Linked DNA regions of Homo sapiens: regions 1, 2, 3, 4 and 5 are each linked to region 6. Evidence: promoter capture Hi-C in 16 types of primary human blood cells and fetal thymus (Javierre and others, 2016). All regions are on one chromosome and are shown on one strand. Each heading gives the region's core, a stretch centred on a gene start or on the middle of the fragment in contact. The rest is flanking DNA. Distances are from core to core; before and after follow the strand shown. Region 1 has its middle 5.6 kb from the start of MTHFD2. Region 2 overlaps MOB1A (MOB kinase activator 1A). Region 3 has its middle 19 kb from the start of BOLA3. Region 4 overlaps MOB1A (MOB kinase activator 1A). Region 5 overlaps TET3 (tet methylcytosine dioxygenase 3). Region 6 holds the start of STAMBP (STAM binding protein).

What was found. The method cuts DNA at HindIII sites, captures the fragments that hold promoters and counts their contacts. A CHiCAGO score of 5 or more calls a contact.
Region 1: a fragment that was not itself captured here is called in contact with the fragment with the promoter of STAMBP in region 6 in 14 of 17 cell types (total CD8 T cells, activated CD4 T cells, monocytes and 11 more); the score reaches 11.6 in total CD8 T cells.
Region 2: a fragment that was not itself captured here is called in contact with the fragment with the promoter of STAMBP in region 6 in 12 of 17 cell types (activated CD4 T cells, neutrophils, total CD8 T cells and 9 more); the score reaches 11.1 in activated CD4 T cells.
Region 3: a contact is called between a fragment that was not itself captured here and the fragment with the promoter of STAMBP in region 6, in 14 of 17 cell types (M1 macrophages, activated CD4 T cells, non-activated CD4 T cells and 11 more). The highest score is 9.2, in M1 macrophages.
Region 4: a contact is called between a fragment that was not itself captured here and the fragment with the promoter of STAMBP in region 6, in 17 of 17 cell types (erythroblasts, fetal thymus, endothelial precursors and 14 more). The highest score is 24.8, in erythroblasts.
Region 5: a contact is called between a fragment that was not itself captured here and the fragment with the promoter of STAMBP in region 6, in 16 of 17 cell types (M1 macrophages, activated CD4 T cells, megakaryocytes and 13 more). The highest score is 17.3, in M1 macrophages.

Annotation. Positions count from the first base shown.
Region 1 is chr2:74,190,782-74,195,311 of GRCh38, reverse strand. No RefSeq gene overlaps it. Among named protein-coding and RNA genes, the nearest start is that of MTHFD2, 5.6 kb to the left of the region's middle. RefSeq lists enhancers at 1,745-2,472, 2,473-3,199. The HindIII fragment of the contact is 518 bases long and covers 2,959-3,476 here.
Region 2 is chr2:74,167,514-74,171,812 of GRCh38, reverse strand. All of the region lies in intron 2 of MOB1A (MOB kinase activator 1A), which reads left to right. Among named protein-coding and RNA genes, the nearest start is that of MOB1A, 9.2 kb to the left of the region's middle. The HindIII fragment of the contact is 7,349 bases long and covers 1-4,299 here.
Region 3 is chr2:74,126,844-74,131,666 of GRCh38, reverse strand. It overlaps a transcript of TET3 not described here. Among named protein-coding and RNA genes, the nearest start is that of BOLA3, 19 kb to the left of the region's middle. RefSeq lists an enhancer at 912-1,525. The HindIII fragment of the contact is 7,915 bases long and covers 1-4,823 here.
Region 4 is chr2:74,149,954-74,154,180 of GRCh38, reverse strand. It overlaps MOB1A (MOB kinase activator 1A), which reads left to right. Exons shown (of 6, transcript NM_018221.5): 6 at 1-1,653. BOLA3-DT (BOLA3 divergent transcript) reads right to left here. Exons shown (of 3, transcript NR_045636.1): 3 at 1,792-4,227. Among named protein-coding and RNA genes, the nearest start is that of BOLA3-DT, 4.1 kb to the right of the region's middle. The HindIII fragment of the contact is 4,043 bases long and covers 1-3,419 here.
Region 5 is chr2:74,107,207-74,111,635 of GRCh38, reverse strand. It overlaps TET3 (tet methylcytosine dioxygenase 3), which reads right to left. Exons shown (of 12, transcript NM_001287491.2): 12 at 3,460-4,429. Among named protein-coding and RNA genes, the nearest start is that of BOLA3, 38 kb to the left of the region's middle. The HindIII fragment of the contact is 273 bases long and covers 1,252-1,524 here.
Region 6 is chr2:73,825,696-73,830,328 of GRCh38, reverse strand. It overlaps STAMBP (STAM binding protein), which reads right to left and starts at 1,368. Exons shown (of 10, transcript NM_213622.4): 1 at 819-1,368. It overlaps LOC105374807 (a long non-coding RNA gene), which reads left to right. Exons shown (of 3, transcript XR_940246.3): 1 at 1-13; 2 at 1,425-1,572. RefSeq lists a silencer at 1,379-1,597. The HindIII fragment of the contact is 5,447 bases long and covers 1-2,229 here.

The DNA of each region.
Region 1 (4,530 bases), core at 1,968-4,467, 360 kb before region 6:
CAATGGCATGATCTTGGCTCACTGCAACCTCCGCATCCTGGGTTCAAGTGATTCTCGTGCCTCAGCCTACCAAGTAGCTGGGATTACAGGCATGTGCCACTATGCCTGGCTAATTTTTGTATTTTTAGTAAAGATGGGGTTTCCCCATGTTGGCCAGGCTAAAAAGATCAGTAATATTTATGCCCTTATGGGGCATGGAGTGAGGCAGGCATACAATGAATAAGAGACTAAGAAAAAGAATGTGATGCTGAGAGCCCACAAAACAATGGATATGGAAGGTTTAGAGGTCAGAGAATGGCCTACAGGTTATATAACTGGTGATAAGACTGGGTGTGATAATTTGCAGATCCTGTCCCCAGTACGCTGTGGGGAGGAGGCACCTTAGAGTTACTTGAACCTAGCAACAGTGATTGAAGAGGGAAAGGAAATACACATTTCCCATCTTTTAAGGAAACTAACCCTCCATCCCTCTGCAAAATTTGGGAAATTTTCTTTTCCCAAAATGTGAACTTTCAGGAATGAATTGAAACCGCCTTTGCAAACATTGTTAACAGCGATCTAACATTTAGTTAGACCACTTTCATTAATGATCTGATCTAACCAACTTCATCTTGCCTTTAACTTCCAAACTTCCCTTGGTCATTCCTGGGCATGGACAAAACTATCCTTGAAACACCCAAACTTTCTGGGAGGCTGATTTGAGTAATAATAAAACTCTGGCCTGGCGCGGTGGCTCATGCCTGTAATCCCAGCACTTTGGGAGGCCGAGGTGGGTGGATCACAAGGTCAGGAGTTTGATACCAGCCCGGCCAACATGGTGAAACCCCGTCTCTACTAAAAATACAAAAAAAAAAAAAAAAAAAAAAAAATTAGCCAGGCATGGTGGCATGCACCTGTAATCCCAACTACTCAGGAGGCTGAGACAGGAGAATTGCTTGAACCCGGGAGGCGGGAGGTCACAGTGAGCCACTGCGCTTCAGCCTGGGTGACAGAGCAAGACTCTGTCTCAAAAAAAAAAAAAAAAATTCCAGTCTTCGGTTTAGCCAGCTCTCTGTGTATTAAACGCTCTCTGTATTATAATTCCTGTGTCTTGATAAATGGGCTGTATCTAGGCAGCAGGCAAGATGAGCCCACTGGGGAGTTACGAAACCCATGTGTGAACATTATTATATATTTTTAATATGCTTCACAAAAGGACCTGCTTCTACGCTCCCACTCTCTTAAAATATCATTTATTTAGACTAGGCTAAATAGTCTAACAGGCTAAATAGTCTAACAGGGTGGCTCATGCCTGTAATCCCAGTGCTTTGAGAGGCTGAGGTGGGAGAATTGCTTGAGCCCAGGAGTTCAAGACCAGCCTGGGCAACATCGTGAGACCCCATCTCTACAAAAAAATAAAAAACTTAGCCAGGCGTTGTGGTGCACACCTGTGGTCCCAGCTATTCGGGAGGCTGAGATGGAAGGATCACTTGACCCCGGAGGTTGAGGCAGCAGTGAGCTATGATTGGATTACTGCACTCCAGTGTGGGTGACAGAGATTCTGTCTCGGCCGGGCACAGGGGCTCACGCCTGTAATCCCAGCACTTTAGGAGGCAGAGGCGGGCGGATCATGAGGTCAAGAGATCGAGACAATCCTGGCCAACATGGTGAAACCCTATGTCTACTAAAAATACAAAAATTATCTGGGCATGGTGGCACATGCCTGTAGTCCCAGCTACTCAGGAGGCTGAGGCAGAAGAATCGCTTAAACCCAGGAGGCAGAGGCTGTAGTGAGCCGAGATCATGCCACTGCACTCCAGTCTGACAACAGAACGAGATTCTGTCCCAAAAATAAAAATAAATAAAATAATAATAATAATAATAATAATAATAATAATGAAATGGGCTGGGCATGGTGGCTCACACCTGTAATCCCAGCACTTCGGGAGGCCAAGGTGGGAGGATCACTTCAGCCCAGGAGTTTGAGACCAGCCTGGGCAACATAGTGACACCCTGTGAAAGGAAAATTAATTTCAGACTCTAAAATCACTAAACTGAGGGGAAAGTCAAGCTGGGAACTATGTCAGGCAAACCTGCCTTCCAATTTATTCCCCAATAAGATAGCTACAAAGATTAAAAAAAAAAAAAAAAAAGAAAGCTGCATATCTTCCTCACAATTTGCCCACAAGGAAATTCCTTGTGGGTCTCAAGATCTTTACCTGAAAACAGTTCTGTTGAATTTCATCCTGGCAATGTAAATTGATAGATGATCTTCACAGATGCAGGACAGAAAGTCATCCCTCTGCTTACCTGAGACAAATGCATATCTGATTGCTTCCTCTGCCCTATTGTTTTGTTTTGTTTTGTTTGTTTTTGTTTTTTTTTGAGAGAGAGTTTCGCTCTTGTTGCCCAGACTGGAGTGCAATGGCGTGATCTCAGCTCACTGCAACCTCCGCCCCCTGGGTTCAAGTGATTCTCCTGCCTCAGCCTCCCGAGTAGCTGGGATTACAGGTGCCCGCCACTATGCCCAGCTGATTTTTATATTTTACTAGAGATGGGGTATCATCCTGTTGGCCAGGCTGGTCTCGAACTCCTGACCTCAGGAGATCTGCTCGCCTTGGCCTCCAAAGTGCTGGGATTTCAGGCGTGAGCCACTGTGTCCGGCCTCCCCTATTGTTTATGTAAAAATGCAGATTCACTGAGCCAGACTAAATTGTGTATTCAGTGAAACGCTGATCAAGGACTCAAAAGAATGCAGCCTTTTGTATCTTATCTACCTATGACGTAAAAGCCTCCCCACACCACTCCCCACTTTGAATTGTCCCATCTTTTGGGACCGAATTAATGTACATATTACACATATTGATTGATGTCTCATGTCTCCCTCAAATGAATAAAAGTAAGCTGTACCCTGACCACCTTGGGCACATGTAATCAGGACCTTCTGATGTGGCTGTATCATGGGTGCATGCTTAAGCTTGGCAAACTAAACTTTCTAAATAGATTGAGACCTATCTCAAATATTTTGGGTTCACATTCTGTCTTTAAAAAATATTTTAAAATTAGCTGGCTTTGGTGGCATGCACCTGTAGTCTTGAAGCAGCCTCATTGTCTGGGGTAAAACCTGAGGTTCATTGTCTCACAGCCACAGAGATCAAGGACATGGACACACAAAGAGTGAGGTTAACAGCAGGAAGTTTAATAGGCAAAAGAAAGAAAATAGCTCTCTGCTACAGAGAGGGGTCCCAGAAAAATGGGTTGTCGACCCACGGTGAAATGCAGAAGGTTTTATAGATGAGCTGGTTGGAAAGTTGTGTCTGATCTACGTAGGGCACAAAAAGCTGGTTAGGACCAGGTGTGCCATTTGCATGGGGCACGATTTTCTGGCAGCCCCCACCCCAGTATTTTATTATGCAGGCGGGTTTTCAGCCTAAGCTGTGCCATGTTGCCCACTTCTTTCTTACTGTACACGTGCTAACAAAAAGGAAGATGAAGCTTCCATGATGGACATGCCTGGCCCCCAGGTACCCCTTTTCTATTGACACAGCTGCCAGCATTCCCCTGTGCAATGTTCCAGCTTGCTTACCTATGTTTGCAGCTAGATTTTTCAGGCTACTTTTTGTTAGGAGAAAACTAATTTCTTGGGCTGCTTTTTGTTAGAAAGGAAGCTCTGCTGAGGACTCATTTGCCCTCACTATCTGCCTAAATAATTTCTTTCTACCTCCTGTATCAGTCTCAGCTACTGGGGAGGCTGAGACAGGAGGAAGGCTTGATCCCGGGATGCACCTTGTGCTACTGCACTCCACCCTGGGTGACAGAGCAAGAACCTGTTTCAAAATAATGATAAAAATAAAATAAAATCTCTTTTGTTTAACAAAAATATTTTTTGCCCCAATTTTAGTCCAAATTCTGTGAGGTGGAGGTGCTCAAGCCTGTCTATATCCCACCCCAGCTAGTCTTTCTGCCTCGTCTTTCTTTGCTCTGCCCTCTATACTCTAAGCATACCCTGCACTTCTGCATGGTGTTTGATTACACTCCTTTCTCTGCTCCCTGTACCCCTACCCTGCCTGACTTAAAAACCTGGCCCCTAGTCCTCCACTTTAAGTGAGTCTGAATGCTTCATAGACACATAACCAGGAATCAGGACCGCACATAGGCAAAATAAACTTTTTGCTGCAACACAAAACAGACAGAATGAATTGCATTTTCCTCTGGGCTATTGTAGCATGTAGGAATACTCCTATTGCAACTCTAAGAACATCTTGATGTTGTTTGTGCACCTGTCTATCTTCAACAATAGTGGATGTAGGCTTATTTAACCAGGGCAATTTATATCTCATGATTCATCTCATTCATCTTTAGTGTGCAAGCAGACAGCACATTAATGACCAAACATATCTTTTTTTTTTGAGATGGAGTATTGCTCTGTCACTCAGGCTACAGTGCAGTGGCGCAATCTCAGCTCACTGCATCCTCCGCCTGCCAGGTTCAAGTGATTCTCCTGCCTCAGCCTCCTGAGTAGCTGGGATTACAGGCGCACGCCACCACGCC
Region 2 (4,299 bases), core at 18-2,517, 340 kb before region 6:
TCCTGTCTCAGTCTCCTGAGTAGCTGGGATTACAGGCACACGCCACCACACCCAGCTAATTTTTTACATTTTAGTAGAGACAAGGTTTCACCATGTTGCCCAGGCTGGTCTTGAACTCCTCAGCTCAGGCAATCTGCCTGCTTTGGCCTCCCAAAGTGCTAGGATTACAGGCATGAGCCACCACGCCCAGCCTAAAACTTCTTAATGGAAAATTTCAAACATATAAAAGTAGACTAAGTACAGTGAATTCCAGGTATTCATTCCATTACCCAGCTCCAACAAATATCAGTTTGTGACCAATTTTTCTTCTTCTATATGTCACCCTGATTATTTTAAGCAAATCCCAGACATGATGTTTTATCTATAAATATTTCAGTAAGGTATGTCTAAAAGACAAGAACTTGTAAAGATAATGACAATGCCATCCTCCTTTAACTTATCAAATATCTGGTCAGTGTTCACATTTTTCATGACTGTCCCATAAATGTTTCTTTTATTTTTTATTTTTTTTTTATTTTATTTTTTGAGATGGAGTCTTGCTCTGTCACCCAAGCTGGAGTGCAGTGGCGAAATCTTGGCTCACTGCAACCTCCACCTCCACCTCCCGGGTTTAAGCAATTCTCCTGCCTCAGCCTCCCCAGTAGCTGAGGGATTACAGGTGTCCGCCACCACGCCCGGCTAATTTTTGTATTTTTAGTAGAGAGGAGGTTTTGCCATGTTGGCCAGGCTGGTCTCGAACTCCTGACCTCAAGTGATCTGCCCGCCTCAGCCTCCCAAAGTGCAGGGATTACAGGCGTGAGCCACCGCACCTGGCCAAATGTTTTCTTTTTAAAATTTTTTTGCTTTAAAAATCTATGCTTTGTTTAAATCAGGATCCAAAGAGGCCTGTGTGTATGCTTCTTGAATCTCTTTTTTTTTCTTCAGAGATGGGGTCTTGCTTTGTTGCCCAGGCTGGAGTGCAGTGACATGATCATAGCTCACTGCAGCCTCAACTTCTGGACTCAAGTGATCCTCCCACCTCACCCGTCCGAGTAGCTGGGACTACAGGCTCACACCACCATGCCCTGCTAATTTTTTTTTTTTTTTTTGAGATGGAATCTTGCTCTGTCGCACAGGCTGGCGCGATCTCAGCTCATTGCAACCTCCTCCTCCTGTGTTCAGGTGATTCTTCTGCCTCAGCCTCCTGAGTAGCTGGGACTACAGGTGCCCGCCACCACACCTGGCTAATTTTTCTATTTTTAGTAGAGACGAGGTTTTGCCATGTTAGCCAGGCTGGTCTCGAACTCCTGACTTCAGGTAATCCACCCACCATGGCCTCCCAAAGTGCTGGAAAAAACCCAGCCAAAAAAAAACCTTTTTTAAAAAACTTTATTCAGGGCCGGGCATGGTGGCTCACGCCTGTAATCCCAGCACTTTGGGAGGCCGAGGCAGGCGGATCACGAGGTCAGGAGATTGAGACCATCCTGGCCAACATGGTAAAACCCCATCTCTACTAAAAATACAAAAATTTAGCTAGGTGTGGTGGCACGCACCTGTAGTCCCAGCTACTTGGAGGCTGAGGCAGGAGAATCACTTCCCGGGAGGTGGAGGTTGCAGTGAGCTGAGGTTGTGCCACTGCACTATAGCCTGGGCGACAGAGCAAGACTCCATCTTAAAAAAACACACACACACAAAAACAAACAAACAAACAAAACTTTATTCAGATTATCATCTGTTATTCTGAAGTCATTTATTGACCTTCAGCCTTAGATTTTTCTTTGAGACTTAACTGCTGTAGATCAGCAGTTCTCAAATTTTTTGGTCTCAGATCCACTTACCCTCTTAAAAAATTATTGATTCCCATAAATATGTACCATTCTGTGTTAATTAAAAAAGTAAAATACAAGCTGGGCATGGTGGCTCATGTCTGTAATCCCAGCACTTTGGGAGGCTGAGGTTGGCAGATCACTTGAGGTCAGGAGTTCGAGACCAGCCTAGGCAACATGGTGAAACACCAGCTCTACTAAAAATACAAAAATTTGCTGGGTGTGGTGGCACACACCTGTAATCCCAGCTACTGAGGAGGCTGAGGCAGGAGAATTGCTTGAACCTGGGAGACGGGGGTTGCAGTGAGCCAAGATCGCACCACTGCACTCCAGCCTGGGCAACAGAGTGAGACCCAGTCGGGGGAAAAACAAGGTAAAATACAAAAAATACAAAAAAAATTATTGAGAACCCCAAAGAGCTTTTAATTATATTGGGTATATCTCGTGATACTCTGTTGGAAATTAAAACTGAGAAGATGTAAATAGTTATTTTTATTTTTTATTTTCTCTCGAGACAGTATCGCCCTGTCGCCCAGGCTGGAGTGCAGTGTCACGATCTTGGCTCACTGCAGCTGCCTCCTGGCTTCAAGCAGTTCTCCCACCTCAGTCTCCAGAGTAGCTGGGATTACAGGCATGTGCTACCATGCCCGGCTAATTTTTGTATTTTCAGTAGAGACGGGGTTTTGGCATGTTGGCCAGGTTGTTCTAGAACTCCTGGCCTCAAGTGATCCGCCTGCCTCATCCTCCCAAAGTGCTGGGATTACAGGCGTGAGCCACTGCACCCGGCCCAAATTCATTTTAAAATAACAATAATAAACCCATTACATGTTACCATAAATATGTTTTTACGAAAAATGACTATTTTCCATAACAAATTTTAGTGAGAAGTATGGCATTGTTTTATATTTTTGCAAATCTTATTTAATGTCTGGCTTAATAGACACCTGGATTCTTATATCCGTTTCTGTATTCAGTCTGTTGTGATATTACACATCATGGAGCCTCTGGAAAACACCATTGTGCCCTCTTGAGAGAGTAAGAGTGAAAAGAACAATTAAAATGGTTTGACCTTACAGATCCTCCCTCAGATAGGGGATTCCTGGACCACGTTTTGAGAATAGCTCTTCTAGACCAAACCAACTTCCACCTGGGCATATTTTTTGTTTTGAGTGAATATTGAATACCTAAGTGTTACTTTCTTAGAAACATGACTAAGAGGAAGATTTATAAGTGAGGGAGTTTTGTATAAAATTCCTTTTACAAGATAGCATTTTAAAAAAATCTATTTGTTTTTTAAGAAACTTGGAAAATACCTAGTTGTTTTTAGGTACTTCTTTAGACAGGAGACTAAAACTTTTTATTTATTTATTTTTTCGAGACAGGGTTGTCCAGGCTGGACTGCAGTGGTACCCTCACAGCTCTCTGCAACCTTGAACTCCTAGTCTCAAGGGATCCTTCCACTTCAGCGTCCTGAGTAGCTGGGACTACAGGCGTGTGCCACCATGGCTAACTAATTTTTTAAAATTTTCAATAGAGACCGGGGTCTAGCTGTGTTGCCCAGACTGGTCTCAAATCCTGGCCTCTTAAAGTGCTGTGATTATAGGCGTGAGCCACTGCACCTAGCCTAAAACATTTTTTGAAACTTTCCAAGGCTTATGTGGTTCTCTTTGCATAGAGTATACTCACTCAGTAAAGTTTATTTACTCACCCCCTGCCTCTTCCATTTTATTCTGGATCTAGCTGAAGCTCCCTCAGGAAGTACCCCCTGACTACTTCCAACTCTTCATGACTTTGCCTTTTCTCTGTAGCATTTATCGTTGGCCTTTGGATCCTGTCTTCTTATATCTTGTACTATTATTGCTATTTTTATTTTGAGACAGTGTCTCTGTCACCCAGGCTGGAGTGCAGTAGCACCATCACAGCTCACGGCAACCTCAGCCTCCTGGGCTCAAGCAGTCCTCTCGCCTCAGCCTCCTACATAGCTGGGACTGTAGGTGTGCACCACCACGCCTGGCTAATTTTTTAAAAATTTTTGTAGAGATGGAATCTCACTCTGTTGCCTAGGCTGGTCTTGAATTCCTGGGCTCAACCAGTCCTTCTACCTCAGCTTCCCAAAGTGCTGGGATTACAGGCATGAGCCACCATGCCTGGCCATATCTTATATTATTCATCTCTTTTAATTTTGTCCTTTCTGTTAGCTAGAGACTCCAGGGCAGGGGACTTTATCTGAAGTATTTTGTCCTCAGTATGCTGTAGACCTCAAAAACAAATGTTTATGATTAATTAGATCTTTTAAATGCCTCTGGATACAGCTGGTGCACCTTCTCCCTCACAGTATATTCCACAACATGTTTTGTCTCTTTCCTAACACAAATGGTATTATCTGGTCCAAAGTGGTAAACTATGGATTTTTCATTCCCTTGGATGTAATCATATTGTATATCCAAAGGATATAATAGTCATCGTTAAGTTAGAATTATCTCCAGTATCTTAT
Region 3 (4,823 bases), core at 189-2,688, 300 kb before region 6:
AGTTCCCTGAGGTGCCGGCTGACTGGGCAAGTCAGTGTAGGGGAAACTGCCTGCTCCACAGCCCTCCCCTGGGCACATTTTGTTCCTGGGTTCCTGTAGTGCCCCTCAGCCCTGGTTAGACCACCTAACTAGCAGTGTAGGGGACAGGGTGGCCAGTAACCTGAGAGAGGACCTGAGGCTGCAAAGCCCCACCCAGACACAGACTGGTTAGGAGCCAATGGTTTCAATTCCCTTTCTTGGGAATCCAGAGTGGGAAAGGTGAGTGAATGACCCGCGGAGAGCCAGTCCACCGACCAGACAATGGCTGCTGGAGCGCTCAGGGCTAACGGACCTGCGAATCCAAATCGGGAAGTGCGGAGATAATGGACTGGAGAGGCCAAAGCTGAACAAATGGACTGAGAAGGTCATGAATGAAGGGTTGTGGCAAGAACGTGCTAAGAGAAAGCAGGCATTGAAGTAAAGAAGATACAGTGATTCCCATTCTGGCTGCAAATTCGAACCACCTGGAATAATTACAAATATCCCTTCCTGGGTCCCTGCCAGATTTAAGAGTCTCATTAGTGAGGGAACGGGAGAGCGGAGGCACCGAGACCAGGTAAGTCACCGTACAGGGGGACTCTCCTCTTTATCCCCTACCAGCCCCCTAGGCCTGCCCTGCCCACCGCAGTTCCCCTCCGTCCAACCCCTTTTCCCTCGATGGGGCTACTGCGTATCCATTAATTCACCTCGCCTCCACCCCCTCACCCATTTGCGGGGAACTGCCCCCCAACCCCTAATTCCGCGGGGTGAACAGCGGGAGCACTTCCAGGCAGCCAGAGCCCGGGCAGGCCCGACGTGGCCTGCGCGCAGAAGATGCCTGTCCTGCAAAATGGTCGCAGCCGGCAATTGTTTGTTAATCCTCTCATCAGAAAGCAGCCCGACGAGTCTGCGGTCCCTCAGGCCGGCTGTATCCACAGGGTGCACCCAAGCACAGAGAAGGTGGAGATGGAGGGACGGGAGGGGGTTCCGCTGCCCTCGATCCCCGGGTCCAGACGTTGTTGGAGAGCAGCAAGCGCGCCCTAGTCCGCGCTTCCTCGCCACGACTCTGCAAGAAATGTCTTACATAAGACACTCACTCTCGGTTCAAGTCCGCCAGCAGTGGCTTGTGAGCTCCAGCTGCCTTCTTCGGGCCACCAAAAGGAGCGCAACCCGCAGAGCGCGCACTCTTGCACGCTCACCGCCTCTCCACTCCCTGCCCAATCAGCCAACATTTGTACCTGCACTGGCGCTAATATTGCTGGTCGGGCTATGCTAGGAGTCAGCTCTACCCTTAGGCACCTCATTCCAGGAAGCTGACCTCATTTCTTAGCTCCTGGTAAGATACCCTGTGGCTGTGAACTTAAAAGAGCATTTGTGTAATTTATTTTTTCTGTAAGGAAAAGGTGTTTAGGGTGGCAGATGAGAGTACACCTAAAAGATGCCCGACGGGTTCTTTTCTTTTGCAATAAGACTAAGCAACCATAGTGACTATGGTCAAACAAAACTGTGAACCCAAGTGTCTATACTAAAGCCAACTTTTTTTTTTTTTTTTTTGAGACAGACTCTTGCTTTGTCTCCCAGGCTGGAATACAGTGGCACAATCTCCGCTCACTGCAACCTCTGCCTCCCGGGTACAAGCCATTCTCCTGCCTCAGCCTCCCAAGTAGTTGGTATTACAGGTGCCTGCCACCAAGCCCGGCTAATTTTTGTGTTTTTTAGTAGAGATGGGGTTTCACCATGTTGGCCAGGCTGGTCTCGAACTCCTGACCTCAGGTAATCCGTCCACCTCGGCCTCCCAAAGTGCTGGGATTATAGGCGTGAGCCACTGCACCTGGCCTAAAGCCAATAAAGCAGCCACCAGGGAATTCAGTGTGAGTGTAACAACAGACTCCTGCCTCTCTCTGGAAGATATAAAAACAAAAAAGTCATTGGGGGCACAAAAGATGATCACATAAAAGAGTAAAACAACTGATGTTCAAGTAATGCCCTTAAGGTTTTTTCAATTCATTTTTTTTTTTGAGACAGGGTCTTGCTCTGTCTCCCAGGCTGGAGCACAGTGGTGCGATCTTGGCTCACTATAGTCTGCCTGCTGGGTTCAAGCAATTCTCCCACCTCAGCCTCCTGAGTAGCTGGGATTACAGGTGCCTGCCACCACTCCTGGCTAATTTTTGCGTTTTTTGTAGAGACGAGGTTTCACCATGTTGGCCAGGCTGGTCTCAAACGCCTGACCTCAGGTGATCTGCCTGCCTCAGCCTCCCAAAGTGCTGGGATTACAGGCATGAGCCACTGTGCCCGGCCGGGTTTTTTTTTTTTTTTTTTTTTTTTTTTTTTTGAGACGGAGTTTCACTCTTGTTGTCCAGGCTGGAGTGCAATGGTGCAATCTCGGCTCACTGCAACCTCTGCCTCCCGGGTTCAAGAGATTCTCCTGCCTCAGCCTCCTGAGTAGCTGGGATTACAGGTATGAGCCATGAGCCACCATGCCCAGCTAAGTTTGTATTTTTAGTAGAGATGGGGTTTCTCCATGTTGGTCAGGCTGTTCTTAAACTCACGACCTCAGGTGATCTGCCTGCCTCAATCCCAGCACTAATCCCAAAGTGCTGGGATTATAGGTGTGAGCCATCATGCCCAGCCTTTTTTTTTTTTTTTTTTTTTTTTTAAATTGAGACAGGATCTCTGTCAACCAGTCTGAAGTGCAGTTGTGCATTCACAACTCACTGCAGCCTTGACTTCTGGGGCTCAGCTGATCCTCCCACCTCAGCCTCCCAAGTAGCTGGGAGTATAGGTGTGCACCACCATGCCTGGCTATTTTATTGTTGTTGTTGTTGTTGTTGTAGAGTTGAGGTCTTACTATGTTGCCCAGGCTGGTCAAATTTCTGCCCTCAAGTGATCTTCCTGCCTTGGCCTCCCAAAGTCTTGGGATTACAAGCATAAGCCCAGCCTTTTTTTTTTTCTAATAGTCTTTATTATTTTTTTATAGTCTTTATTGTTTTAGAACAGTTCTACATTTACAGAAAAATTTTGAAGATAGTGGAGTTCCCATATGTCCCACATCCAGTTTCCCTGATTATTCACATCTTACGTTAGTATGGGGCATTTGTTACAATGAATTTGTTACACTATTATTAAGGAGAGCCCATACTTTATTCAAGTTTCCTTAGTCTTCCCTTAATGTCTTTTTTCTAGGTAGCCCCTCCATGAAACCAGATTACATTTAGTCATCATGTCCCCTTGGCTCCTCCTGGCGGTGGCAGTTTCTCCGATTTTCCTTATTTTTGGTAAGCCTTAGTCCATATAAATATATTCTGGGGGAATTATAGATGGGTTTGACAGAAAGCAATTTTAAAAACAAAAACTACAAAAGAAGAAAGTCACAATCAATTGATTAGTTGAAAGTTACTCTATTCCAAACATCTTGGCAAACATTAAATAATCACATTTCAGAAACTACACCAAGCGAAAAAAAAAATGCCTTGAGTTATGGACATCAGGAAGCAGTAGCTTTGCACAAAAAGGATGGGTTTAAGGAGAACACTGTTTGAGGTGAGGTTTGGTAGATTTACAAACAAGGTTAGAGAAGGCTTCTATACACACATTATTAACCTGTGACATTAAATATATCTCTAAAACTTTATAACTTTTCCTTTTATTTAACAGAACTGTTGGAAGAAAACAAACAATATTTTGACTAGAAATGGAAATTCCTGATGCTTTGGGAATTGTTTCAGTACTTTTTCTAATACTTTAGGCATTGACTAGAAGAACTGAGACTAGAAAATACTCTTGCCTGTTTAGTCAGTATCACGTATCTTCATCTGTTTGTTGTCGCTGCTGAAGCACACACTTAAAATAATCATCATACATTTATGCACACAACCCCTTCTCCCGTGCCCTATACAAACCTATTAAGCTATTTTTCCGAATCAAATTTGCACAACTTTAAAGAAAAAAAAAAAACCTCACAGAATAATGTGTTTTTCAAGGCAGGCATTTTAAAAGCTAATCCCAACTTGCCCCGTTTTAGGCTTTTACAGTGTTTAACTTGCTTTCTTGGGTAGTTAGTCTGGAAATGAGTTCATCATCTGATATAGGATGGCTGGATTTTAATATTTTCTGTCTCCAATTCGTTTGGTTAAATGCCTAAAGCTGGTAGTCTACTAGTGCTGAAGGAAGAGGGGAAGCATTTATGGCTCATTAGAACCAATCCCCATGGTTTCCAGGTCAGCTGATTTTCTCACTACAATACTTAACAGCAAGATGAGAGGCTTTATTAACATCATGTCAATAAAGCCATTAATAATTCAGAAGAAATTTTAATTACAAACTTAAAAGAATTACATAGTTGTAAATTAGTCTGTCACTAAGTAAAGACTACTACATTTCACTTTGGGAGACCTTGTAAAATGTAAGCTAACTCATTGCTGGAACCTTGAAACAGAGGTCATCCGGATCAACAAGCATGAGTCCGTCCCTTCTGCCAGCTTCTGATCCCCTCATTTGAGTTTATGAGATGAGCCAATAATGAATGTAGAGGCAAGCAGCTCATTTTTCTACCTAAAACTAAGTCTCAGCCTGACACTTTTCTTCTGACCCAGTTACAGCTGCTTCTCTGGTGTGTGCTTCAATCCTCTTCACTGGGCACCATTAAACACTGGACTTGGTAGCTGTCTATGCATGTGACCAATTTCACTATCCATCTTCTGGCTTCAGTGCCAATTTTAAGAATGCTAATTCCTACGTGGCCAGATTTCTATAAAGATGGCAAATTATTTTATTCTGGCTAAAATTAATCATATTATTAATATTTT
Region 4 (4,227 bases), core at 149-2,648, 320 kb before region 6:
CACTCTGTCACCCAGGCTGGAGTACAGTGGTGGGATCTCGGCTCACTGCAAGCTCTGCCTCCCAGGTTCATGCCATTCTCCTGCCCCAGCCTCTCCTGAGTAGCTGGAACTACAGGTGCCCGCCACCACGCCCAGCTAATTTTTTCTATTTTTAGTCATGCCTGGCTAATTTTTTGTATTTTTAGTAGAGATGGGGTTTCACCGTGTTAGCCAGGATGGTCTCCATCTCCTTACCTCGCAATCCGCCCGCCTCAGCCTCCCAAAGTGTTGGGATTACAGGCATGAGCCACCGTGCCCGGCCTATAGAAATCAATCTTTTTGACTCTTCTCACTTTTATCTCCCCATGCCCAAGGTTTGCCTGTTCCATAACACTCACTCCCTTCCCCCTTGCTAATCAGAAGCCATCTCCTCTCAGTGTCTGATCTCTGCTCTTCATACATGATTACAGTCATGGGGTAGAGAGTGCTTGCTAAATTATGCAGTTAATCCTATGGTGCTTTAATTTTCAGGCCTTCAAAAAACACTTGTACAGTGATGTGCAGATTTTTAAACAGTTGAACTTCCTTGTACTACAGTTTTTGTATTGACAGCCAAATTTGTCTTTCATTCTTCAGATTGTGAATAAAGTGATTTTTACAGGGCTTCCAGCAAAGTTTTTCCTTTCATCTAAGGCTTGTAGAACCCTAGCTTATATAGCTGCTTACATGAGAAATGCAAAATCTGTATTCACCATGACTTTAGTAACAAAGGTAAAGTTTTTTAGTAGTGCCAAGGCAAGAGGAACAATCTTGGTGGTAGTACTAAGTTTTGTCAATATTGTGGTTTCCTGATTGTATTGTTGGCTTTCTCTCTGAGCATTGAGGTATACTAGAAGTAGAGCTTCTCAAACATAATATCATTACCTCATAAGCATTAACAAATCAGGCCCAAAGAGCGTAAGTCCTAGAAATTTGTTTTAAAGCAGCCCTAGTCATGGTGCTGGTGCTACCGCCTTGTTTTAGGAGCCTGCCTCCTGTCAGTATGAAACCCTCACCTGAAAAATGCCAGCCTGGACACCAAACACTGAGCCCCTTCAACAGGCACATTATTTCCCCCTGAGATCCATAAGGGAATTTAGTTTCTACTATTGTAGAGTTCTGAAAAGAGGTAAAATAGTAGTCCTTTGGTCATCCTATTTTTGCTTTCAATTTTGATATTTCAGACTGTAAAAGGCCTTGGGGGATGATAGTACATGTGGTAGCAGTAATTTTTTTGAAGCAACTGCACTGACATTCATTTGAGTTTTCTCTCATTATCAGATTCTGTTCCAAACAAGTATTCTGTAGATCCAAATGGATTACCAGTGTGCTACAGACTTCTTATTATAGAACAGCATTCTATTCTACATCAAAAATAGTTTGTGTAAGTTAGTTTTGGTTACCATCTAAAATATTTTTAAATGTTCTTTACATAAAAATTTATGTTGTGTTTTAAAATCCTTAGGGGCTTTATCTATTTTTCTAAGTCAGTTAACTGTACTTCTAAAAAAAGTATTTTGTATCTACTTTTGTAACTTCGTCAGAATAAAATATATTGAAAGCAAGAAATGACTGATTAAAGTATGTATATCAACACACATTTCTATTTAAATATAGAAACTTGAGAGTTTTGCAGATTCTGTGGATTTTTGAGTACAGCTTAAATTTGGAAAGTTATCTTTGCATATCATTTAGTAGCTAAAATGTTTTCTTAGCCGTTAAAAAAGGAAGTTCCTAAATGAACTAAGTATCATACTACTGGGACCGAACCCCTAAGAAACAAACTATGTCTCTGATAGTGGCTAAAACCCATCCCAAACAAAAATACGTGGTCTCCTTCCTGCCATGCAAATCAGGCTCCAGATCTCTTGTACATTCCTGGTTGTGCGATAGTAGAGTTAAAATTAAAAACTTAATGAATGTGGCTAAACAGTACAAGTTAACACTAATTTTATTTTTTTGAGCTGGGGTCTCTGTTGCCCAGGTTGGAGTGCAGTGGCACAGTCTTGGCTCACTGCAACCTCCGCCTCCCAGGCTCAAGTGATCCTTCTTTCTGAGCCTTCTAGTAGCGGGGACAACAGGCACACACCATCATGTCCGGCTAATTTTTTGTATTTTTTGTAAATATGGAGTTTTGCCATGTTGCCCAGGCTGGTCTCGAACTCCTGAGCTCAAGCAATCTGCCTGCCCCGGCCCCAAAGTGCTGGGATTACAGGTGTGAGCCACCACACCTGGCCTAGTTACTAGCAATCAGTTTTGGATTTCTTTTGACATTTTCAGTAGACTTAAAATCAATCACAAAAATGATAAGTTTGTAAGGGTATCTAATGGCTATTTCAAACTTTGTAAAATAATAGAATAACTCAGATAATCTTTGGGAGAGCCAGACTCTGGGTTTGAACCTGCACAGCCAGAAACAATGTCCAAACTATGCCATGGAGCTTCTCTGACAAATACCCCATTGATGTCCCCACTAGGTATGGACATTACAGCCTGCACTGTCCCCACTTAGGTGTGGACACTAGTCTGCACCTTTATCGCTGGCCACTAGATGCCAGTCTGCCACAACACCTCAAAAGCTAGCTACCTTTTTAGCTTTTTACTGGAGTCCTTTAGTAGGTTATCTCATTTAATCCATAAAGCAACCTGGAGAAAGTGACTGCAATTAAGAGGTATGCCAGAAATATTTCAGTATTCTTTAGACCATGCCACATAAGCTCAGACAAGTTCAAATAGCTAGTATATAGCAAGTCTGTTTCTCTGGATTGCATTTGCAAAAATTCTGCATGCTCAGCAGTGCTAGGAAGCTCTATAAAATGATGGTGCAACGAAAAATCATCCCAATGAGGTTAAAAAAGGAGATGCATCCAAAGAGTTCCTACCTAATGAATTTTCTGAGTTTCAGATGTATATATGTGTATGAAAGCTATGAGTGATCATGGACCAATACAACTGAAGAGAACAAGAGAATCTCGAGGTCACAGCAAAAAAAAGTAAGATGCAGAAAGGATTGACATTTCCTGGGACTAAATGCATTTCACTTTTGTTTTAATCACAAAGTAAAACTTACTTATTTGCTTCTGTCAAAAAAAAAAAAAAATACTAGAACTGTTGGAACTAATTTGGAAGCCCAAGATTCGTCAGATCGTCCTGCAAATCCTTTTCTAGAAAAGTTCAAACTTAGACCTATGGAGCGCAAATTGCTGAGCCTCTATCAGTTCTGTTCAGTAATTACAATGCATGCACTTTTTGTCCCATATTGGGCTGCTGACAGATGACTCAAGCAAGGCTCTGTCCTCAGGGAGCTTATAAACCAGTGAGAACAGACACATACATAAATTGATAGTTGTAAAAGGCCATAAGTGCAACAAAAGTTACAGGTAAGTTGCGGGCCCTAAGCTTACTGTGAGGCAGTCAGAGGTGGCTCTTTGGAGAAGACAAGGCTTGAACCTTAAAAGGTGGGCAACTGCATAACCAAACTTGTAGCATAGCTTATGAAGGGAGGTGCAAGTATAATATTACTGAAGGGTAGATTTCAGTTGGACAGGTAGATAGTGGTTAAATCATACAAAAGAACTTGAGAGTTTTGCCTGTAGGTAGGCGATGGGGAATCTGAAGGATTTCAAGTAGCAAATGTTTTCATTTCATTTTATTTTATTTATGTTTTTTAGACAAAGTCTCACTCTGTCGCCCAGGCTAGAGTGCAGTGGCTCAATCTCGGCTCACTGCAACCCCTGCCTCCTAGGTTCAAGCGATTCTCCTGCCTCAGCCTCCCAAGTAGCTGGGAGTAGAGGCATGTGCCACCATGTCTGGATAATTTTTGTATTTTTAGTAGAGATGGGGTTTCACCATGTTGACCAGGGTGGTCTTGAACTCCTGACCTCAGCTGATCCGCCTGCCTCAGCCTCCCAAAGTGCTGGGATTACAGGCATGAACCACTATGCCCGGCCTAAATGTTTTCATTTCAGATGGCTCTGACAGCCTAGGAGGAACTGAAGATAAGAGGAGGAGAATGGGGCAGAGAGTAGCTCAGAGTAACAGATAGTATGGGCAACTGTTAAATTATGGGGAAGAGGAAGGTTAGAGATAAGCAAAAGTACCTTTTTTTTTTTTTTTTTTGAGACAAAAAGCTGGTAGAAAGGCCACCGCAGCCAGCTAATGGTTTGTATTTTTAGTAGAGATGGGGTTTCGCCAATGTTGGCCAGGCTG
Region 5 (4,429 bases), core at 139-2,638, 280 kb before region 6:
CCTTGTCCAACATGCCTCTGTCCATATCAGGGAGGAGTCCATATCTGTAATTAAGGCTTACACATGGTAGTCTGTATGAATGGTGTTCCCCAGAGTTGTGCAGTGCATAGCCTGTATGACTGTACAATGTGGGTTGCTAATAAAAGTAGCAAAGAGAAGCAGGATTGAGAATGCTGAGGATGTAGAATCTAGACTTGGCAGGTGTCAGGATATGACTGGGAGAATAGGAAATTTGGTGGAGAGTTGAGAGGTCAGTTTTGGTTAAGACTTTGACCTTACCAAAGAGCCACCCAGAGCTATCCAGCAGCCCAAACTCATGAGGCTAGACATGGCTTTGGAAATCATTGGCATTAGGGTCATAGTTGAGGCCTGGTGGCTGAACAAGTCCTTTGAAGGAAAGCTTATAGTCTGTGGAGAAGACTGAGTCGATTCTTTTGGGGGCATTTGTGTTTAAAGGACAAGAGGTCACAAAGGGGCTCATGAAAGGGGGCAGGGTCCTGGGACAATGGAATGTTCCTGGCTATGCAGTCCGGGAGCAGAGGGTTTCCAGGGCTTCACAGAGGTCAGTGAGGATGAGGATCCCTGGCTCAGAAGCTGACTATTTCTGGAGAAATAAAGGTACAGGTGAGTGAGTGGTATGGACCTTCAAGCTAGGAGGTTGTCTACACCTGCAGATATGTGGTGGTGATAGGAAGGAGTGGGAAAGGTCTATGAGGCACAGCAGGGTCAGGCTGGGGTGAACCTGAGAGCACGTGATGGGGAGAAGCCACAGAAAAGGGTTAATGGATGAAGCATGTTCCACAGGAGCAGCACAGGGTGCACATGGAGAGTGAGAGTCAGGGGTACCGAGCAGCAGGGGTGTGTGTACAGTAAAGAGGACAAACATACAGGAAGATGGTTTGAAGTGTGGTGAGGGAAATTGGGCAGGCTCCCTGGGCCTGGGGTTGGGCTTCTCAGTAGAGGAAAGCAGGCCTCTGCTAAGACCTCTGGAGTGGGGATGAGGTGCTGGGGGGTATCTAGAATTTAACAAAGCTTTGTCTTTCACGTCTTCTATGTTGTGTTCATGGCTCTGACAAGAATGTACACTGGATTATGTGTGTCGAACATGTTTTTAGGGCTTCATGTCCCCTTGCAGGGACATGATGTATGTATGGATGCACCATCCCATGGACATGGGACGTTGAATGCCCATTATTTTCAGAGTACAATGGGAGACAAAGATGACTAACAGCTCTCCAAGCTTAAGAAGCTTACAAGAGCATCAGAACACACAACAAAGTTGCTGACCAAGTTGTGTAGCTGGGTTGGGTAAACCAATATTTGACAAAATTAAGATTCAAAATAGGCAGGGAGAGTGGGTTAAACAGTTCATTTAAGATGGCTACATTTCAACTGCTGTGTGAAGCATTAAAAAAAAAAATTGCACGCAGACTTGAGTTAGTGGACCTGATTTGGCAAAAGTTCACTGAAGAGGTCACTATGTGGTCCCAAGACTAGTCTTGGATTCCTTAGTGATCTAAAGCTTTGCATATGTCAAGAGTAATAATGATAGCTCTTATTACTTGCTATGTCCCGAATGCCTGGCACTTTCACTTCTGTAGCAATTTTTTTATCCTTATATCTTATGTGGTATCATTAGCCTGTCTTATTGACAAAATGACACAGGGAGATGAAACCCTCATCAAATCACACAATTGGGAAGTGAGGGATCTATGTTCTTTCCAAGCCACAAGCCGCTGCTTAAAAAGCTAATAAACCTTGGTGTACACTCATAAAAATAGTGTGTCCAGATCGTGGGGCTCCTTGGTGTCTTTGTGCTTGGCTTGCATGAGCCGGATCCCATCTGGAACAAATTGCTCATTTCTAGAGATCCCAATATGAATAATGATGCTCTAGGTGTGAACAGACGGGGGCACGGTGGGGAGTAGTGGTGGACAGGGCCTGGACCTGTTACAAGAAGGTTTATGGAATTAAGAATGTAGTCACGTGGCAGAGGGGAATTTACTGCAACGCTTCTCAGCGTAGAAAGAAATAGACTGAGTGGGATTTACATGGAGGCACATTTAGATTAGTTCAATTTATAATTGCAACAACTTGGGATGTTAAAGAGTTTGGTGATACAGGGATGATTAAATGCTTCTGTATCCATACTAAAAACATTGCTAGGCAACTATTTAAAAAGATGCTATTCTGCATACTGATAAAGATAGTTTAAGTGCAAAAAGATTACAAGATTGTATTATTGTATTCCATTTGAAAAAATACATATGGGTCGTATTTACACACTCAAAATGTTTGCAACCAATATGCGGTTCTCTCGTGGTGGGATTTCAGATAACTTTTAAGAACTTCTGTCTTCTAATTTTCTATATTTAACATGGAACTTGTATAAGAAGAGATGGCAGCATATTTATAGCTAACCAATAGTGAAACCAGCCCCAGCTGAAGGAGGAATGTCCTGGCCCTCCCTTCAGGCTCTGCAGATGGATCCATCATGACAGGCGCTCAGGAAGGGGACAGAACTAGGTCTCTTCCAACTCAAGGAGGAAAGCAGGTTACAAAACACAGTGTGACCCCACTTTTGTAAAACATATAAACATGTTTGAGGATCCCTGGATAGCCAGGTGTGCCAAGGCATTTCCAGTGGGTTCCTTTGCAAGCAAAGTAAAATGGAGATAAAAACCTCCAAGCCGATCACCTGGCACTCATTATGATCATGGTATTTTCACTCAGATGCCCTCAGAGATGAACTTTCCCACCTAGAGTGACTTGGGATGTTGGGATATTGCTGAAGTCCTTATCAACAGCTGGGCTGGTTGTCCCTCAAAGACACTGGATCAATTTCAGTCAGATGTTTCATGCAGGAGGAAGGAGGAAGAGCAAGCAGATTCACTATTCTCTCTCCTCCTTCCTCAATTCATATTCCCTTTTCAAGAACAGCCACCTCCAGAATTGGCAATTTGAATTAAAGAAGGTAGCTCCAGGCATGGGATCTTGCGGGAAACCTCTGCCGCTGGTCAGCAGAATCTCGGGTTCCGTATATTAGCCAATCCCTACTAGACTTGCTGTTCAAGCCATCCGAACCAAGCAGCATTTGGTGATCCTTTAGCAAACCTAACAAACATCAGAAGTTAATTTTAGTAGGAGGGAGGTATCTCCCAGTGGAAAGAAAAAAAAGGACAAAAAAACATAAAAGGGAAAGAAAACAAAAAGAGAAACATAGATGAGAAAAAGGCCATCTCTATTTTCTCCCTTTAGATCCCGTTTTAACAGCTGATAGCCTCTGAACATTCCTTTATCCAGGTGGCAGAATGGACAAGGCCAGGTTCCGCTGCTGCTATTAGTGAGGGCTTCATTTGTACATCTACAACATACGGTGGGTGGGTGAGGTTACAGGGTACCTGACACATCACATTCCAGTCCTGGTTCAAGAAGGGGAAAAAGAGAACCCACACTGAATTTGAGTGCAAAAAATAAATATAAAATTTATTAAAACACCCACAATATTTTAAAGATACCAGGAGTAATACAGTTCACAAACCCAGTTGTTTGTGTAAATTATAATAAAATACAAATCAAAAAGGATACATACTTGCAATTTCTAGGCACCCTAAATTAAATTTACTGAAACACTGAGGGAGAAGGGAGGGTAAGGAGGGGTAGCTCAGGAGGCAAACCAATAAAGTGGAAGGAAAAAATATTAACAAAAAGGTAAAAATTATACAAAATAAAATTATCAGCATAAATTTACTGTACTAAGAATATCTACAGTTTAATACACATCCTATTGCCTTGAGACATTGCAAAAATCTACCATTCATCCATCAACCCCAGATAAACTTCATTTCAAGTAGCCACAGTTTACAAAGTCAAGACGGAATATTCAAGTATGGTTGTTAAGTTCACCTCCATTGGAAGCCAAGTAACCAAACAGGAATTCAAAGAGATAAGAAATAAAACACATCAAAAAGCTACAGGGGTTCTAGATTAAGTCTAATGTATTAATATGCCATTATACGACCTGCCCTTGTTTCTTTAATTGGAATACATGAAAAAGAAATGACATCACTCCTGTTTTTCTCCCCTCTTTTCCCCTCAAAAGAAAAAAAAGGGTATTGAAACCAAGAAAATTTGGAATGTTCACATGAGCCAATTAGTTTCTTAATTTAAATCCCCGTGTGAAGAGTGATGAGTTACCCCTGAATGACGGGTAGTCAAAACGCGAAGAGGGAGCAAACAATACCACTACAAAAAGCATCCCTGATATCAGAATAGAAGCCAATGAGGAAGTAGGCCAAATCGCTCGCTGATTCTTAGGCAAAAAGCAACTTTAGACCTTGCATTTCTGTGCTGCGGTCTCTGCTCAGGGGAGAAGCCTATTGCTCTGCTCTTGCCTGCAGCTCTGCAGGAGGAAGGGCTGGGAGCACCA
Region 6 (4,633 bases), core at 119-2,618:
ATTTGAGCACAAGGTGAGTTAGGGGAACTGGTCTGGGAATTAATGCTCATAATTGTAACTCTGCTCACTAAACCACTATAGTCAATCTATAAAATCATTCATTCATCATTATCATGGCAAGAGACTTAAATCTTGAAAACAACCATTTACTCATCTTCATAGACTAAACACTGAATAACAAAAAGGCACGATGGTAACTTGCATTGCAAAAACCCCTGGTGTCCCAAAACTCCAGTAATTCTAGTCTTTCTAGATATAGTTGCTGTTAGAATCAGATTCCAAATTCCAACCAGATATCACCACTATCATCTCCAAAATAAAACTGGGCATTTGACACACATTGCATTACAGCAAACCCTAATCAGTATGCTCTAGAATACACAAACTACAGTAGAATAAATCTTGGAATTCAAGGCCCTGTGGCAACTGGCCCTCCCCAACAGAGATCTTTTGCTTCAGTCAGGATTCCAATCCGCCCAGGCATCCTCACATTTCAGTTTCATTTATCTATCCAGTTTTTCTTTTCTACTACAACTCTTCCCTCAGGGGTAGTCTTCTCTCAGCCAATTCCATCTTTAGGTCTCTTCAATATTCGGGTCACAATTCCTCCACAAACCTTCCCCTCTAAAACACCCTCACTAATAGCACAAAAGCCGTGAGGACTACTAGGGATGCAGAGATAGTCCATCTCTCACGAGGCCTCCTTAGGGACTCAGAAAGCCGCAAGCATATCTAAAACCTCCCCAAGTAATTAGTAAACCTAGTCCACGGCCCATGAAAGTTAACTGAAACAGAGGATGCTTGTTGCATCTCAGTACCTCTTGGGAGAGGTTCTTGTGGGTTAAGAAAGGAACCACCTCCCAAGGCCAGGAAGCGGCGCCGGTTACCACCTGGTTGAGCAATTCCAAAAAGGGGATGCAGCATCTGCAAATGAGGGGGAAAGGCGGCGTAAAGGACCGAGGGGGAAATACGAGGAGGAGAAAGGAAGTAGCAGGAATGAGCGGAGGGGGCGTATACAGTAGGGAGGGCTCTATCGACAACTGCTTGAGGAACCCTTCTTGAAGGCACTCAAGACGAACTTGCCAACCCCAGGCACAATCATCCAGGGTTTTCGGGATCTTTCAAATGCAGTAGGCGGGGAACCGCTGGGCCTGGCTGGTCAGGCGCCAGCCCGCGGAGACAGAAGCCGTCGGGTGCCTCGAGCGAGGCAGGCCGGGCAGGGGACTCGGGGAGAGTAGGCTGCAGGCCCCACACTCACGGCGGCCGATCCCCTTCAAAGTCCAACCACGCTCGGAGGCCCTGCCCCACCACGTTCCCGGGACCCTTCCCCACCTTTCCCCGCGGATGACACCCGGAGGTTCCGGAAACGTCACATCCGGCGCCCGCTCCGCCCACTCCCGTTCGTCTGTCTATTACATTCCCAGTGATTTAGGACTTGGAACGGAGAGCTAGTAGGTGGGGCTAGAATCGGCACCTGCGGAAAATCCGACCAATGAGGAGCGAACGACACAGCGGCCATCTTGGTAAAGGAAAAGGAACAAGGAAGAAAGTGGAACCAATTAGCAAGCTAAGGTTTGCTTTTAAAATTATTTTGATTTGGGGTAGTCCCTCATCACACTCACAATACTCCTGCATTTAAGGAGGGATTGCTGATCCCAGCACAACTGCAGACTTAGCTAAACTAACCAGGATTTATAAATTGGGGGACAGAAAGTCTTTCGAATGTATTTTTTAGCTTGTATTACATTCTACACAAAAATTGGTAGTCTTAGATATTAGGCAATATCTAAGACTAATTTTATTGCTTAGAAAAGAACATAAGTCTAACTTTTTTTTTTTTTAAGACAGGGTCTTGCGGTGTCACCCAGGCTGTCACAGGAGTGCAGTGGTGTGATCATAGCTCACTGTGGTCTCCAACTTCAGGGCTCAAGCGATCTTCTTGCCTCTGCCTCCCAAAGTACTGGGATTACTGGCGTGTGCCACCGCACCCAGATGAGACTAACGTTTTAATGTCAAAAAACCTATAAAATATTTGGAAAAAAAGCGTTTAATCTCTAAGAGCCGCTATGCAAAAGCAGTGGAGACACAAAAATCTGTATGACACTGTTCCTGCCCTGAGACCGGGACAAGGTGGTTTTATGCATCAAATACAGAATGGCACGTTCTGCATGTAGATGTGTGTCTGTACGAATCCATATACATCCTCTTTACAAAAAGGTCCTACAAGCTTGCTAATCATTCTGTCTCAGAAGACTTTGTGAAACATTAGGCTTTGGTTTAAAAGTCTAAGTCTCTGGGGGACACTTTCCCAAAATTTGGGAGCCTCCCTGTGAGTTTGTTAGTGTGATGGCATGACCTATTCTTCAAGGTCTAGCTTAAATCCCTAATTCAGGTGTTGCCTCCTCCACCTAGCCAGCCTCCAGATCTCTCATTTCTCCCAACCTCCGTTGTGTATATTTCTGTTGGAGTTACCTGAAGTGATTTTGTGTAGTCATCAACTTTTCAGACTTAGGGTTGAAAGTACTTGCTTGCATCATATCACCTCCCCTTCTGCCCCCAGCAAGCATTAATGTGCATGGGTCTACTATCAACTCTCATGGATCTACTGCAGATAAATCTGGGAAGATAATTGTATAGGGCACTCTACTGTGTCTTCAAAACTCTCTCTACTGACTCTCTTCAGAATGTAAACATGATGGGTTGGGCCTAAAGAAATTGATGCACTGGAGATGCTGGTCATTGGGTGGGCATTATAGTGCAGATGGGGTCCTGGCAGGAGGCAACACAGGTCAAAATCTGATCCATTCAACCTCTCACTCAGTAAATGTTTACTGAGTGTCTACTATGTGCCAGGTTCTGTTCTAGGTGTTAGGGATACATCAGCAAACAAACCCAGCAGGTGGATACTCTAATGGTGGAAGCACAGGTAGAAGTACAGCTGGTGGGGTAGGGAGGGGCATCTGCTCCCATTCAGCACAATCTCTAAAGTAGTTCTTTTTTTTATAATGTTTAGCTTAACAAGTAAAGAAAATTTACAAACATCCTAGATTTTAAGATTATGATGAGAAGACTTTAAGAAGCTATAACTGAGACACACATATAAGGGGTGTGCATAGTCGTAAACATAGCTAGCGCCACATAGAGGCTGTTCCTGATATTAGAAAGTTAATATGCCCAGTTGCTAGCAGTTCTTAAGGTAATAGCTAAGTGAATATAGGAAGCAGGATCTAGTCTTTTTAGGGAGAGAATTTGTAAATGTTGACCAGAGTTTTTGATATCTGGGGCAAAGTTCAATACTCAGCTTTCTAGGGACCTGAAATAAGAAAATCTTGGCCAAGGTAAAAATTTTACATTCCTCATTTCTTGTTTAACTGGAAAAGTTTAAAAACTAAACAATTTTGTATACACAATCAGGAAATCAAAGCTATAAAAGATTCTTGGCATAACTGATGAGAATATCCTACCTACCCCTGCCCTAAAGATTGGAGGCTAAGCGTGGAAGGTATTCCTTCAGCAAATAGGCTTCAGCAGTTCACCTGGCAGACTAGACCAGGTTAGGAATTGAGATGCTCTTTCCTTCCGGTGCTCACTCCCAGCCATGAACACTTTTCCTGAATATAGCAGCCTCCATCTGGCCGCTTGCATATGCCAACGTCAGGTCTCCTGCACTCCTGCATGCTCATTCCTACTTGCTCATTTTTGGGCAGCAGCAAAAGATGCCTAGAAGGTGAAGTTCTTAATCTGAAATGTAACATCGGGGTTTAGAAAACACAGGCCTGGACCAGGTGCGCTGGCTCACGCCTGTAATCCCAGCACTTTGGAAGGCTGAGACAGGAGGATCGCTTGAGCCCAGGAGTTCGAGGATATAGTGAGCTATGATTACACCACTGCTCTCCAGCCTGGGCAACAGAGTGAGACCTCTAAAAAAACAAAACAAAACAAAACAAACAAAAAACCCAGGAGGATCACTTGAGCCCAGGAGTTTAAGGCTGTGGTGTGCTATGATCTCACCTGTGAATAGCCACTGCATTCCAGCCTGGGCAACATAGTGAGACTCCTATTGCTAAAAAGCAAAAAGAAGAAAAGGAAAAATACAGACCCAGCGGAGTTCGGGGGTCAGGGAGGGTAAAAACAAGGAAGACTCTAGGTGTATTTCACTTGCAAGGTTGGTACTCTTGTGTTAAGTGACATACCTAGAGGGACAATTGCATTAGTACAGGAAGGGCGTTCATTCTTACCTACTACAATGCATTCTTACAACAGCAGCTAATTTTTTTTTTTTTTGAGATGAAGTCTTGCTCTGTCACCCAGGCTGGAGTGCAGTGGCACAATCTCGGCTGCAACCTCCACCTCCCAGGTTCAAGCAATTCTCCCTGCCTCAACCTCCTGAGTAGCTGGGATTATAGGTGCTCGCCACCAAACTTGGCTAATTTTTGTATTTTTTAGTAGAGACAGGGTTTTGCCATGTTGGCCACGCTGGTCTTGAACTCCTGACCTCAAGTGATCCACCCACCTCAGCCTCCCAAAGTGCTGGGATTACAGGTGTGAGCCATCACGCCTGGCCACTAATGATCTTTTTAAAGCAAAAATCAGATTCCATCACTCCTCGGCTTAAAACTCTTCAGTGAATTCC